Linked DNA regions of Homo sapiens: region 2 is linked to region 1. The links are contacts of gene promoters, found by promoter capture Hi-C in blood cells and fetal thymus (Javierre and others, 2016). All regions are on one chromosome and are shown on one strand. The core of a region is centred on a gene start or on the middle of the fragment in contact, and the rest is flanking DNA. Distances in the headings are between cores, read along the strand shown. Region 1 holds the start of LRIT1 (leucine rich repeat, Ig-like and transmembrane domains 1). Region 2 overlaps CCSER2 (coiled-coil serine rich protein 2).

Evidence for each region. The method cuts DNA at HindIII sites, captures the fragments that hold promoters and counts their contacts. A CHiCAGO score of 5 or more calls a contact.
Region 2: a contact is called between a fragment that was not itself captured here and the fragment with the promoter of LRIT1 in region 1, in 1 of 17 cell types (activated CD4 T cells). The highest score is 5.2, in activated CD4 T cells.

The regions. Positions count from the first base shown.
Region 1 is chr10:84,238,026-84,245,960 of GRCh38, forward strand. LRIT1 (leucine rich repeat, Ig-like and transmembrane domains 1) reads right to left here and starts at 3,521. Exons shown (of 4, transcript NM_015613.3): 1 at 3,293-3,521. The coding sequence starts at 3,414. RGR (retinal G protein coupled receptor) reads left to right here and starts at 7,028. Exons shown (of 7, transcript NM_001012720.2): 1 at 7,028-7,144. The coding sequence starts at 7,066. RefSeq lists an enhancer at 7,174-7,673. The HindIII fragment of the contact is 15,150 bases long and covers 1-4,536 here.
Region 2 is chr10:84,493,302-84,501,236 of GRCh38, forward strand. All of the region lies in intron 9 of CCSER2 (coiled-coil serine rich protein 2), which reads left to right. Among named protein-coding and RNA genes, the nearest start is that of CCSER2, 170 kb to the left of the region's middle. The HindIII fragment of the contact is 969 bases long and covers 3,916-4,884 here.

The DNA of each region.
Region 1 (7,935 bases), core at 2,271-4,770:
CGTTGTGCACTGTTGCTTTGCAAATATGCGTTAGAAGTGTTCGTTTGGCCGGGCACAGTGGCTCACGCCTGTAATCCCAGCACTTTGGGAGGTGGAGGCGGGTGGATCACCTGAGGTCAGGAGTTCAAGATTAGCCTGGCCAACATGGTGAAACCTTGTCTCTACTAAAAAATACAAAAATTAGCCAGGCATTGTGGTGCACCCCTGTAGTCCCAGCTACTCGGGAGGCTGAGGCGGGACAATCGCTTGAACCTGGGAGGCAGAGGTTGCAGTGAGCCGAGATCACCCCACTGCACTCCAGCCTGGGTGACACAGCAAGACTGTCTCAAAAAAAAAAAAAAAGTGTTCGTTTGTTAAATTATACCTCAATTTTTGTAACTGTTTTGGTTTATCGTTTAACAAAAAATATACCAAGGACATCAAAAATGAAACCACCTCAAGTCTCTCCCACCTCTGCGGAGCCATGCGATCGATGATCAAGTTGTTTAAGAGCCAGGACTTGGCAGCCCCACAGCTGGATTCACACCTGGGCTCTTTGCTTGCTGGCTGTGTGTCCTTGAGTACATTAGGTAACCTCTCTTTTCCTCAGTTTTGCCATCAAATAGACCCCACAAGGTGGTTATGGGGTTTAAATGAGGTAATGCATGTGGAAGCCCAGCACATTGCCTGCCACCCTGCATGAGCCCAAGGGTATGGATCACTGTCATCAATGTTTGCATCTCAGCACTGCAAGTAGATCGGGTCAGTCTTATCAGCTCTTCTACCCAAACCACGACTTCTTAAACCTTATTCCATTAAGTTTGAGACTAAAGCAGAGGATAGAGAGATAATAGGAGGCAGTCCCTGCCCTCAAGAAGCCTACATTTCAGGGCTATGTTTTATACTACGTAAACTGAAAACAAAATCCTAAGCCCCCCAGCCACTGAACAGGCCCTTCTAAGGGAGGTTGTTCTCTTGTAATAGCATAACCTACTGGTGATATCAGGCTTTCCTGGAGGTGCACACACATATCACCAGCATCCCTCAGCATAAGTCTATGCTCCACTTAAAGGCAGCTGGGCTGGGCTTGTTTTTTCTTGTAAACAGTGTCCACAAACAGCACGGATATTCTTACTCACTCCTTTTGAGCAAATATACATGGAACTCTTACTAAGTGATGAGCAATTCAGAAGAGAATCAGCCTCATAGCCCCTGTCTCCATACAGTGTGTAATCTAGCTCAGGAAGAAAGAGCATTTACAGCAATGATATTTCCAGATACTACAATAGGTTCGGGCAGGTGTGATAGCTCATGCTTGTAGTCCCAGCTACTCAGAAGGCTGAGGTGGGAAGGTGGCTTGAGCCTAGGAGTTGGAAGCTACAGTGAGCTATGATTGTGCCACTGCACTCCAGCCTGGGTGACAGAGCAAGACCCTGTCTCAAAAAAAGTAATACAGGTTTGGGTATTGCAAGGAGGAAGGTCTGGATGTAGGTGAGAGAAAGACAGGTGATTGGAAAACTTATCTTGAACGGGAGAGAAAACGGTAAAAGGGGCATTTAAAGGAAACCATAAGAACTCAATGCAAGCCTACACCACAGCTCAAACCTCCAGCACAACTCCGGGTGGGGTAAAACCAGAGGCAAACTGGGACAAACAGCATGGGCACAAATCCATTCAGATGCATAGCCCAGCTCCTCCCAGGCAACCCCAGTGCCCACAGGCACACACTTCACGATACAACAGCTCAGACATAAAGGCTGGGCTCTCTGAGAGGCCCAGGTTAGAGAGGGATCTGAGGAAGGCTTCTGACATGCAGAACGAGCTTTGGTCTAACTGCACAGTCTGTGCCCATAGCCACAGGGGACCTCAGGGCCCGCTACCACCTTTCATGGCCTCATAGGACCCTCCATGCAGATGGGCTGGTGCATGTTAGCCATGGGATAGTCAGGCGGGTAGAACCAAGAGCTCTGGCTTCAGAGAAGGGAATGCCCACTGACTTACATTAGCGGCCCTAGAAACTCATTTTCCATCTTAAGATTAACTCTGCTGCCTGGAACTTACCACTGGTCCCTGCCCATGGCAGCATCACCAGATAAGTGTTCTGAAAACTGAATCGGAATGCCTGGGTTCCAGGACCGGTTTTGTCAATGATGCTGTGTGGCTTTCAGCCCTATGCCTTCTACGGGTGGTGGGAGGCTTTTTGTCACTCCAGTGACACTGCCCAGGCTGGGAACAGCAGGCTGTTCAGGGCTCAGCCTGGCTTCTACTGGGGACAGGACCCTTACACTTCATATGAGTTGATGCCTTGGACACTTGGGCTACAGTGGAGCTCATTCTGGTTCTCAGATCATTTGAGGTGTCTTTTCTTAGTGGTTCTTCTCCATTCTCCTCTCATCCCCCAATCAACTCGACATTCATTGCCAAGATTATTAAAAGGGTAGCTCCAATAACATTGTTCCCAGGATCAGAAACCATCAGTGGCTCAGAAACCATGCAGAGGTCATTAATGGATAAGCTAAAGAAGTTGGAGAAAAGATGATTTAAACGTTGCTAAAGAAAAGAAGAAAATGAGCAGTAGTGGAAGAGCAAGGGTCCACAAGCCACAGTGGCATGGGAATGTCCCATGAAAGGAGAGGAGGAGAGAATGGAGGTGCTCTGAGGGATCAGACAGAGGGTGGGGAAAGTCAAGGAAAAGGCTGGGGATGGAAGGAAGCATGCTTGTCATGGGATGGGCACTCCTGGCTTTTGGAGCACTCATAAAAAGGTATTGAGGCTGAGGCTCCTGGGATCTGGCCAGCGAAGATGGAGAGGAGGAAGAGAATGAGAGGCAAGTGGTCCCATCATGGGTGGGGTTGTAGGAAATGCCTGGGATATGATTGAATATTGTAGAGAGGTCAGGCAAGAGAGTGCAAGTGGCCTGGGAAAGAAGGGGCTGGGGAAATATAGAAAAGAAGAGGGAATAGAAAAAATAAAAGAGAAGAAAAAGCAGTAAGGGAGGAGATTTCCTGGACCTTTAAGGAGGGCTCTTCACCAGGAGCCTGGAGGAGGACTTAGGAAGGACTTCTTAGAACTGACATACTTGTGCCTCACCCTCGGGCCCATGTGTATAGATACCTGGTACCTCTCGAATAGAGTCACCCCCTTGCCTGCTGGAAAACAATGCAGCACAGTCCACCCCATAGGATCCCTGGTCCTCAAGGGCCAAGGGAGATGAAGACCTCACCCAGGGCCCCAGCTCCAACTCCTCCCAACCCAGCCTAGCTGGCAAAGCAATGGAGGCTGGGCTGCCCGTCCCACGCACCCGGTACCATACCTGGCCTTGCTGCCATCACCCATGATATGGAGGCTGCAGCTGCATTGAGAGGGGCAGAAGCCCCGGGCCTGGGGGGGCCACGCAAGGGCCAAGAGCCAGAGCATGCCTAATGCCACCCTCATGGCTCCTGGCTCCTCTCTGGCCCAGGCAGGGGCCTGTCCCTGGACCGCTCCGTCCCACCGGCCCAGCAAGCTCAGCAGCTGCCCACTTGCTCGCCAGCCCCTTACACCCCCTCCTGAGGCCATCGGATAAACATGGACAGACTGGGGATTAGGGAGGGGAGTCCCAGCCGCAGCACTCAGAGGCTTATTGCTTTCTGAATCACTCAGTCCTGAGGGTAGGGGCGGGGGACCCCCTTCCATAGCAATATCCACAGGCCCAGAGAGGCCAGGGCAGGGCACAGCAAAGCAAGACAAGTAGGCAGCTTTCCAGAGGCGAGCAGCCATGGGACTGTCATCTGCAAAGCATCCCATCCCAACAAGGCCACGGACAACACAGACCCCACTGGAGTGCCAGGGAAGATGGAGAAAGAACCCCCGCCTCAGTAAGGGCCTTTGGAAATTCTTTCCTGTGACACTGTCTCATAGCAAAAAAGCAGTGAAATGAAGCAACTCTTCCTGATGGTGCTAAAGGCATTGGAAGGAGGCTAAGCTCTGGACCCAGGCTTCCTGGGGTCAAATCCCAGCTGCTCCATTAAGGGGCTGTGACCTTGGGTGAGTCACATTATCTCTTGGCCTCTGTGTCCTTATCTGACAAAGAGAAATAAAGTTACTTCATGCAGGGTGTTTGTGAAAATCAAACTCAAATTCCAAGGCCTTGACAGCCTGTGGGAACAGAAGCTCTCTCACAAGTTGTAAGTGCCCAGTTTCACTGGTACTTATAAGACCCTACTTACAGAAGAACTGGACAGATTCAGATATTTTGGGGAGACATCAGAGGTGTCTCTCATGAGCCCACAAACTGTCCCAGGCTGCCAGGCAAACAGCTGCCTGCCTTGAGTGCCCCATGGATATGGACTCAACACACTACTATTTCAGCTGAGCCCTTCTGGGCATTGCTACGAATGCCAAAGGTGGAGATGTCTCCACATAAGGGACAAGGGCACCCCTCTCCTCAAGGTGCCCTACTCCAAGGAGGGCCCCAGAGAGGTAGCTCAGAGAGGTCTTAGAGAAGGCACTTTCAGGTTTTTTTGGAGACAGGACCCCAACCTCTAATAAGGGCCTTTGGAAATTCTCCATCCATAAAGCTTTGTTTTGCTTTATAGGGACAGGGTTGCTCTGTCACTCAGAGTGGAGTGCAATGGTGTAATCATAGCTCACTGTAGCCCCGAACTCCTGAGCTCAAGCCATCCTCCTGCCTCAGCCTCGCAAGTAGCTGGAACTGCAGGCAACCACCACCATGTTTGGCTATTTTTAAAAAATTATTTTTTGCAGTCAGGGTCTTGCCATGTTGCCCAGGATGGTCTCAAACTCCTGGCCTCAAGCGATCCTCCTACCTCAGTCTCCCAAAGTGCTGGGATTACAGGCCTGAGCCACTGCACCCAGACTAATTTCAATTTTTACTTATTCTCTCCTAACCCTATCTCGCCCCACCATATCTACTCAAGATGCCAGTGGGGACTGACCAGGGATGATTCCCAGCAGTAGACACTCAGTCGACTCATTCATTCATTCTTCACATTTGACCCTGAGGCATTGTTCTCTGGTCCAGCATGCCCTACCTATGTTGTTTGGCTTTTCTAGAAGGTTCCCCAGTCCTTCATGCCTGTGGCTCCAGGCAGGCCTAGACCAGTGAGGTATGACCTGCAAAGATATCTGGGGCCCCAGTGCACACATAAAATGCCTAGCTCGGAGCCAGGTCTGTTTCAACAATACTGGCTTCTCATTCTTTCCTTCCTTCCAATGCAGCCAGTAGGATTTTCTCAGTGCTTCCCAGCTATACTTCCACCTCCCCAAACCCAGCCGTCAGCTTGCCTGTTCCCACATCTCTGCTTCTTCCTCCTTGTGTCTTTTGCCCAAATGAACTTTACCCTTTAATCTTGGCCTTGCCCTGCTTTATCTCCTCTCATGAAGGCTTTTGTGATCTCGAAGGCATGAAAAAAGGACTGACATATGTATTAACCAACACCATAAGGTAGAAATTGAGACAGAAGGCCAGGCAGGGTGGCTCATGACTGTTATCCCAGCATTTTGGGAGTCCAAGGCCAGCAGATCACCTGAGGTCGGGAGTTCAAGACCAGCCTGACCAACATGGAGAAACCCTGTCTCTAATAAAAATACAAAATTAGCCGAGCATGGTGGCACATGCCTGTAATCCCAGCTACTCGGGAGGCTGAGGCAGGAGAATAGCTTGAACTGGGGAGGTAGAGGTTGCGTGAGCCGAGATTGCGCCATTGCACTCCAGCCTGGGCGACAGAGCGAGACTCCATCTCAAAAACAAACAAAAAAACAAAAAAGAAATTGAGAAAGAACAGGGAACGCTCTGGAGGGCGCAGCCATAAGCTCAGCCCTGCAGAGGGATTAGGCTTGGATGTAAGTGAGGACTCATGAGAGGAAAGGCCTGGGAAGTGGGCATTCCTGGAACAGAGTGGGTTGCTCTACCAGGTGAGTCAGAAGATGCCATTGAAAAATGCCTGAGCCTGAGGAATAGGAGATCGGCTTTTGTTCCAGCTCCATCCATAAATTACTGCATGGCCTCAGGCAGATTCTTAACTGTTTTTAGCCACAGTTTCCTCATCTAAAATGGAAAGGATAATGGTATCTAACTCATGGAGTTGTTGTAGGACTCATCAGAAGATCCCCTAGCACAGGGCCTGACCTCACTCAATATTAGCTATGTTGCTGATAGTGCTCTGGAGCTTGGTTTCTTTATCTGAAAATGAACTAAGTTGTCCTAGATCAGTATTTCCTGGTGTAAATTTTATCATGAGCCAGAGCATAACAGTGCATAAAGAGCCAGTGTATCAAGAAGTCATTTGTAGCAGCCAAAGCTCTTAGTGGGGCCGGCAAGGCTGGGCGGGTTCGGGGTCGGAGACTGACAAGACGGCAGGCAGCCCCTCTGTTCTAAGACAGTGTCCTAGGACATTTTTTATGCTCAGGTGCTCTATGGGAGACAGGAAATGCAGCCCTGAGGTTTATATTCGTGATATCTAACCAGGACTTATATAAAGGCCACAGACAAAAGACATTGACATTGCAGAAAAGTAAACGGAAGAGTCCAGTGGTCCCACTCCAAGGCGCATAACTAGTTAGTGGCAGATTCAGAACCAGAACCCCAACCCCATTTTCTGGTCCCAGATGGGGTTCTTCCTCTGACAGCAGGCGACTTCCCAAGCCTCATCCTTTCCCCAGCGCTTTGGAGTATACTCATGTGAGCCTGAGGACACACACACAGGCACCAGGCTTGTTGGGAACAGCTGCGGCTCAAATCCCTCCTCCTGCTCCCCTCCCCTGGTTATGCAACTCTTTTCCAATTAGGCTCTCAGCCACACACCATTTGGATTCCCCGACCTTAATCCTGTGCAATGGGGCTGAAATGAATGAGACAGGGCTCCATTCTGGCTTCACAAAGGCTGCATTGTCCAACTCGTGAATGGGTTCCTTCTGCTTGGGCCAAGAGGACCATTTGCAGCGGGGAGGCATCCAGAAACAGCCCAAGGTCCAACATAATAACCTGCATGTGCCTCCACGCACATGGGATGGCCCTTTAAAAGGGAGGGCCTGGCTGTGGGAAGCCAGAGACAGCTGGGCCACTGGCAGTGAGGGAGAGTGAGGATGGCAGAGACCAGTGCCCTGCCCACTGGCTTCGGGGAGCTCGAGGTGCTGGCTGTGGGGATGGTGCTACTGGTGGAAGGTGAGCCAGGCAGAACCTGGGGTGCAGCGGGGGCCCAGTGGGTTCTGAGGACCCAGGCCACCAGTGTGGAGCTGGCAAGGAGAGGAGAGGTCCCCAAACCCAGCTGGGTGTCCGGTCCCATTGGCTGCCTTCCCCTCTGTGCCCGGACTCGGGGGGTGTTCTGACAATTGAACCTGTGAGGTGCAGCACACTGCCCGCTGGGAGCAGAGAGGAAGCCAGGCAAGGGTCAGGGAGGGAGGGACTTTGAAAGGGGACATCTGCCCAGGAGATGATCAAGAGCCAGGCTTTAGGACTTTTCATGTCCCTCCAGCCGGGAGAAAATTTAATCCACTCCTTGGAAATCCTGCTGAGAATCCCACATAAGATCAGTCCCCCAAAAGGCTCTGGGGACAGACAGCTCTGCCTCCTGCTCTTGTGTGGCTGGAACCAAGTCCCTTCAGCTCTCTGCCCTCAATGCCTTGACATTCCGAATGGGTGGTTGTAAAGATTAAATGGGATAATGGGTATAAAGTGCTAGCCTAAATAGACTCTAGGGTATTTAAGTTCATTCACTCCCATCCTCTCCAGCCCCACCACTATTTTCACTGTGTCTACTCCTATGAGCCCAAGCACTTCACCTCTGGAGGCAACCTGGGTCTGCGAGGTACCTACCTCAACCTAGAATCCCTAAGATGCTCGCTGAGGCCAGAGCTAGAGACAGTGTCAATCCTGAATCTGGGCCAGCCCAAGCTAAATTGATGGAGAACGCAGCTTTGGTTCAAAGCAGACCCAGAGAAATCATCAGCACGTTT
Region 2 (7,935 bases), core at 3,150-5,649, 260 kb after region 1:
TCCTTATTTCATTCTGATTTTGGTAATTTACCTTCTCTCTTTTTCTTTGTCAGTCTTGCTAGTGGTTTGTCAATTTTACAGATCTTTTCAAAGAACCAACATTTTGTTTTCTTGATTTTCTCTGTTTTTCTATGTTCAATTTCAAGGATCCTGCTCTTTTATAGTGAAAGTGAGTTTATTAGAGAAGTAAAGAAACAAAAGAATTGTTACTCCATAGACAGAGCCCTGAGGGCTGCTAGTTGGCTATTTTTAATGGTTATTTCTCAATCATATGCTAAGCAAGGGGTGGATTATTCATGAGTTTTCCGAGAAAGGAACGAGAATTTCCCAAAACTTTAGGTTTCTCTTCCTTTTAAACTATATAGGGCAGCAGTCCCCAACCTTTTTGACATCAGGGACTGGTTTCATGGAAGACAACTTTTCCACAGATGGGGAGAGGGTTGTGGGAGCAGTGTGGATGGTTTCAGGATGATTCAAGTGCATTACATTTATTGTGCACTTTATTTCTATTATGATTACATTGTAATATATAATGAAATAATTATACAACTCACCATAATGTGGAATCAGTGGGAGCCCTGAGCTTATTTTTATGCAGCTAGATGGTCCTGTCTGGGGGTGATGGGAGACAGTGACAGATTATCTGGCATTAGATTATCATAAGGAGCAAGCAACCTAGATTTCTCGCATGTGCAGTTCACAATAAAGTTCCTGCTTCTGTGAGAATCTAATGCTGCTGCTGATCTTACTGGAGGCAGAGTTCAGGTGATAATGCAAGCAGTGGGCAGTAGCTGTAAATACAGATGAAGCTTCAACTCAACTGGCCTGCTGCTCACCTCCTGCTGTGTTGTCAGGTTGCTAATAGCCCATGGATTGGTACTGGTCCGTGGCCCAGGGGTTGGAGACCCATGATGTAGGGTAACTTCCAGACATTCCGATGGCATTTGTGAACTGTCAGGTGCTGGTGGGAGTGTCTTTTGGCATGTTAATTTATTATAATTAGCATATAATGAGCAGTAAGGATGACCAGAGGTCACTTTCATTGCCATCTTGGTTGTGGTGGGTTTTGGCCAGCTTCTTTACTGCAACATGTTTTATCGGCAGGGTCTTTGTGAACTGTTATCTTAATGCCAACCTTCTCATCCAGTGACTCATCCGGTGACTGAGAATGCCTAACCTCCTGGGAATGTAGTCCAGCTGGTCTTATCCTCATTTTACCCAGCCCCTGTTCAAGATGGAATTGCTCTGATTCAAATGCTTCTATTTCCCCCTCCCCTTTACAAGGGGACCCTTAATCCTAAAGGTTGTAGAGGGACCAAGATCCATCTTCTGTAGTATCCTTTGGCTTAATAGGGGTGATGATATTCCTTCCTAACTTGTAGGGTCTCTTGTATTCAAGGTAGAGTGAAGCGCAGTCATAAAGCAGCTATGTGGTGAAAGCCATTCATAACTCTGAGTCCTGACAAAAGGCGATATTTGGGAGACCAAAGTATTATCTGTTCATGGTTCGTTATGGAATATATTACCGGAAAGGGGTCTGATCCAGACCCCAAGAGAGGGTTCTTGGATCTCACACAGGAAATTTTGGGTGAGTCCACAGAGTAAAGTGAAAATGAGTTTATTAGAGAAGTAAAGAAACAAAAGAATGGTTACACCACAAAACTGCTGATGTCTGCTTTTTTTTTTTTTTCTTTCTTCTTACTTTGGGTTTATTTTGGTCTTATTTTCTCTAGTTTCTTAAGACATCAGTTTAGCTTATTGATGGAATTTTTTTCTCTTTTCTGTCTCTACTTCAGCTGTTTCCTACATATTATATATTTTTTCAGCTGTTTCCTATACATTATGTATTTTCTTTTGCATTCAGTTTGATATGGTTTTTTTTTTTTTTCTCTTGAGACTTCCTCTCTGACTGACCCATGGATAACTTAGGGGTATGAATGTTAGTATCCAAGTGTTTGGACATATTCTTGTCATCTTTCTGTTATTGATTTCTAATTTGATCCCATTGTGGTCAGAGAACACATTCTGTATAATTTCAATATTTTAACTTTGTTGTGGTTTGTCTTGTGGCCCAAACTATGGTCTGTCTTGGTAAATGTTCTGTGGATTCTTGAAAAGATTGCTTTTTGCTATTGTTGGATAGAATATTCTGTAAGCATTGACTAGGTGCTGTTGTTAGTGGTGTCCTTGAGTTTTATGTCATTGCTGATTTTCTTGTCTAGTTATTTTTATCAGTTGTTGGGATGGGGTGTTGAGCTCTCCAACTGTAATTGTAGATTTGGCGATTCTCTCAGTTTTATGAGATTATGCTTCAGCTACTATACGTTTCTGCAGTTTGGTGTGCTGTTAGGATCACTGTGTCTTCTTGGTAGATTAACCTTTTTATCATTTTGTGAGGTCTCTTTCTATATGTGGGTATTCTTTTTGCTCTGAAGTCTATTTGATAATAATATAAGCACATCAAATTTCTTTTGTTTTTTTTTTTTGGCGTGGTATATCGTTTTCATCTTTTATTTTAAAATATATATATTTTTATACCTAACATGAATTTCCTGTAATCTGCATATAGTTAGGCCATGAATCTACCAATCTGTCTTTTAATGGGTATATTTCAGCCCTTTATATTTAATGTAATTTTTGCTATGTAAGTCTGCCATTTTATTTTTTTCTTTTTTCTTTATTTCTGTTTTTTCTTTTCTGTATATTAGTTTTTTAATAATTCTATTTTTATTTATATATAGTGTTTTGAGTTTATGTCTTTATAATAATGTTTTAGTTGTTGCTGTAGGCATTATATTTCACACACACATACATATATATTTAACTATATATAGTCTACTACATGTAGAAACTTTATGTCCTTTTAAGTCCCTTTTCCTCTCCCATTTATAAGTTTCTTAAATATTTTTTATGCGTATTTTAAGAAGTACATAAGAAAATGTCACAGCCATACAAGGGTGGAGGCCTACACTCCCCAGTCCTCCCTTTCTTTTTTCTTTTTTGAGACGGAGTCTCGCTCTGTCGCCCAGGCTGGAGTGCAGTGGGGTGATCTCGGCTCACAGCAAGCTCCGCCTCCTGGGTTCATGCTGTTCTCCTGCCTCAGCCTCCCAAGTAGCTGGGACTACAGGCGCCCGCCACCACGCCCGGCTAATTTTTTGTATTTTTAGTAGAGATGGGGTTTCACCATGTTAGCCAGGATGGTCTGGATCTCCTGACCTCGTGATCTGCCCGCCTCGGCCTCCCAAAGTGCTGGGATTACAGGCATGAGCCACCGCGCCCGGCCTTCCCAGTCCTCCCTTTCTGATGGGAATGGGGGCTGGGGCCACAGGTTTTTCTGTGGTGTTAGGTAGATTACTGGATACAAGTTTCCTGCATTGCTAGTCTTCCTCTTTCCTGATCCTTTGGCTAGAGTGTGCAGGCTTTCTTAAATTTTTTTTTTGTGTGTGTTCCTTGTCATTTCCAGGGGCTGGCTTCTCTATCACTCATTTTAGGATACATTAGGCAAAAAGAAAATCACCATATTTTTCCTTGGGTCCCAAGCTGGTCTCACTTTTTCTCTCTACCTTTCAGAATATTGTGTTTTATATATAGTGCCCAGGGTTTTTAGCTGTATTTGACAGCAGGAAAAGGGAGAAGTATGTCTACTCCATCTTTTCCTGAAACTGGAATTCCCTGTTCTATTAAATGCTGATCAGAGTATGTTATTTCTACTCTCTATAAGTAAATTGACAAGAAGCTAAGTAGTTGACACCAAGGAAAGTAAGAGAGCTATTATTTTCAGGGTGGTTATATTTAATAGAAGAATTTTTAAGATACTCAAATCAAAGTAATGAAAAGAGGAAGAAAGATTCCACCAATTGCTGTGGGTGTTTATAAACAAGAATGATCATAATTAATTTAGGCAGGATCAGGAAAAGCTTTTAGGAAATGGGTTTGAAAGAACCTAAGGGGGCTGGATAAGATTTTGACAGATGGGTAGAGAAGTGGAAGACGCATTGTAGGTGGCAGAAATAAAATGAGTAACATTCTTTGTCTTTCTGGGCATAAGCTCTGATGGCATACAACTGTTTGATAGGCTAATAGATGGGTGCCCCTTGGCGGTGGCAGGCAGCGCTGTTTATGTATTTATTTCACAAGGTTGTCTTTCCCTTCTTATACTCAGACCTATGCCAGAGATTATGATTTGTTGGTCTTGGGGAAATAAAGACAGATATCATTGTTTTTGGTTTTAAAATTTCTTAGGTGGTTATAGTGTGTGGCCGGGATTGACAGATGCTACAGCTGCATCTCTAGATAAACACAGTAAATTAATTTAATTTTGTTTAAATCAGTAAATAGTTAACTTAGTGTCTGCTACATGCTGGGGGAGTTTTAGGCTATAGAAGGTGGGACATCTAATATCTTTTAAAACTCCTGCGAACTTATAGGTACTGTGACAGATACTTTCACCTAAATTATTTCAGGAATTAATGATCTAGCAGGAGAGACAATTTAATACAAAGTTGATTGTTTTAAATGCCATATAAATAGAGTTACAAAATTAAAAATAGAGTTATAAAATTACTGGAGTGGAGATGGGGACAGATATGAGTAACTAAATTATAGGAACTAAAAGTAAGAGGGTTCTTCGAGATGAACCAGTCCAGCCTCTGCATCTGACAAATAAGGAAACTGAGGCTCAAAAATCAGTAATTTTCTCAAGGTTACAAGGCTTGGGAAAGATCCAAGGAAAAAAAGTTTCCCTGATTCCAAGGTCAGTGCTATTTCCACAGACCTGCAAAGGTAAACATACCTCTTTGGTGAAGGAAACAATGACTGTTTTCTTAAACATGTCTATGAAGTTACCATCTGAAAGTTTCTTTACTTAGTAGTACAGTGGGTAGAAGCTTGGTTCTGCAAAACGCATAGGGAGGATTTGGTTGAGAATTTGTTTAGTATAAATATAGCCTTTGAACCAAAACATTTCACAAACAGCATAACAGCAGGTAGTATCTATGGAGAGCATCTGGGGTCATCACCTTATTCAATGTTTTCTAAGCTGTTTTTGCCAAATTAGCAAAAGAAAAAAGTATAATAATTTCAAAAGATAAGATTTTTATTTACTAGAATATCCTAAAGATTGTTAATTTAGTTTTTGTGGCTTTTTTTTTTCCCTTCATCAACATAGAAAATGGATCTTTTATGTTTCTGTTTTATATTGAACAATGTGGGATCACCCTTAAATTTAAAGAAGTATTTGATTATACCTGAGTCAAAGAATGTTGATACGGAAAGTGAGAAAAATTTTTTTCATTTCAGACCCTTCATAAGATCTGTAAACACTGTTAAACTATTATCGTAATTTTTAATACAATATTATTTTTAAGTCAGATTAATTGGTCTGAAAAAATATACATAATTTCTTTTGCAGATTTAACTGGGTATGATCATGATTTATAGGCTGATTTTCCTTAATGATATTTTAAGAGTGTTTCAGTAGATTTTTTTGTGCATATGTTTCAGTCAGTAAGGAGGCTAAGGACATAAGACCCAATATGGTTCCCTTTGTATAACATTGAACAGTTACTTTCTTGAAAAAAGTTTTTTCTGTAAAGTGAGGACATTGAAGTAAATGACATTTCAGGAGTATCGTAGTTCTGATAATCTGTGATTAAAATAAGTAAAGCTAAAAAGCCACAAGTTATTGAAATTAAAAAGCATGTCCACGTAACCAGTGGCCTACATGTCACATTACAACATCCTGAATCTTTTTTAATGCTGTGTTGGTTTTGCTAACTTTAGCTAATGTTCTTTATTTTTACCTGCTAATCCTCTGAAAACCTGTGATTTAAGAAGAAATTTTATTTTTTTTTGAGACGGAGTCTTGCTCTGTTGCCCAGGCTGGAATGCAGTGGCGTCATCTCGGCTCACTGCAACCTCCACCTCCCAGGTTCAAGCAATTCTCCTGCCTTAGCCTCCCGAGTAACTGGTTTTACAGGTGGCTGCCACCACACCTGGCTAATTTTTGTAGTTTTAGTAAAGACAGGGTTTCACCATTTTGGCCAGGCTGGTCTTCAACTCCTGACCTCGTGATCCACCCGCCTCATCCTCCCAAAGTGCTGGGATTACATGCGTGAGCCCACTGCACCCGGCCGAAATAAAAATTTTTAGATGATAATTTTTTTGTATTGCCTGATTCACAAATTGGTGCATTTTCTGTGTGTTTAACACCTAAAGTCTATCTCCCCCTTTAAATTCCTTCTTTTTCTGCAAAAGACTGGAATCTGCTACTTTAACAAGAGATATATGATGATAAATGTAATGTATACCGGAAAGAATATATTATTTCTTGTACATTGTACTACAAATATTAGAGGAAAATAATTTTTTAAAAAAATATTAAAAATAACTAGGTTTGGATTATGATGTATTTTTAGTAATTTGAGCTGCCTGTATTTTAAAAAAATGAAATCTGTCTTCTCGTTAACACTATTGCTCTGTGTTATTTAAAAGTAAAACAAAGTATGACTTGGTTTCTCTATTTTTTGGTTCCCTTTTTTATTATACCTCCCTACCCCATCTCTCTCTGCACAGGGTGGGTATTCTGCTCCCTCCTTCTCTCCTTGGCAGGGCTCCTTCCAGGGGATCCCACGGACTGTTCCACCGCACCGCAGACAGAGTGAGTCTGTGTCTCTCACTCCTATCCTGCTCTGGCTTCCCCTTCATGGTATTTCCCTTCTGCATGACCTGTTCCTCCCCAGCACCTCCTTTTCTATCCTGAGTGCTCTGCAGGCATCTGCTAAAGCAGCACTCTCTGTGGTCTCCTCTCTTAACACTTCCTTTTACTGCATGTAAACAGACCTCTACTTAGAGCCTTATGGAAGCTGTCTGAGGTTAATTTCATTCTAATACTGTTTAAACCTATTGCCAGTGACCCTAGACCTACTGACATGCATCTGTCTTTAATGCATTTTCAAAACCTTGAAATATGTGAATAAAAATTGTTGTGTTATCTAATTGTTTTAAAAAGTGTACATGTGATCTACAATGGTATGATGGACAGATGCATAATGTGTGGGGAGCAGGCTTACTAGACCATTGCACATTTCTTTAAATAATATTTCCTAATTAAGGGCTTGGATTGCATTTCACTGTCATCTAAAATAAAGATATTTCTAATTGTTTTTTCTAAAAGTGGTTTAAAACAACTAAGATGTTTTTGTAATTTATCAGCTTTACAGCACAGAAGAAATGGCTTTTGAATATGCATGGTTTACTAACATTTCTAATGATTTAGTTACTGTTTGACCTTAAAATTTTTGTTTATGTTAAATCTCTTTTCCAAAACAGTGTGGGTTATTTTGTTTTATGTACTTAAGTATGCCTGGTAAGTTGGTTATATTTTATCTTTTTTGAAAAGTCACCCATAAAAAGCTATTATTAATGAAAATGAAGTGTAAATACAGTCAATCAGAGGTATTTTTATGCCTTCTCCAAGGATTTATCATGATTTGTGATTCATTCAATTTTTTCATTATCCATTTCCATGTGAAGTATCAAAGGTGTCAAAGGAGGAAATTTTAAGCAATTAGGAATGTGATTTATTTAAAGAAAATTTTATTTCTTGAATTAGCCAAAATTATGAGGTATCGACATGAATTCCAGAGAAGGCATGAAGTTTATTTTTTGGCTGCTACACCTCTCCTTCCCTTCTGTACTTTTTGTTTTAAAGAAAAATCGTTTCTGTAGGCTTTTATGTGATGTTCTTTAGTAGCAAGTTCGTTTGTTTACTGGAAGCAATGAGAAAAGGAGTTTTTTTGTCCTCCTCCTTTTCTATCTCCCACCACCTTGGTAACTCCTCCTTCTCCCACCACCTTGGTAACTCCTCCTTTTCACTTCTCTCGTCTTCAAGTAAGTTGCTTTCTTTTCTCCTCTATTTAAATAATCCCAGCACAA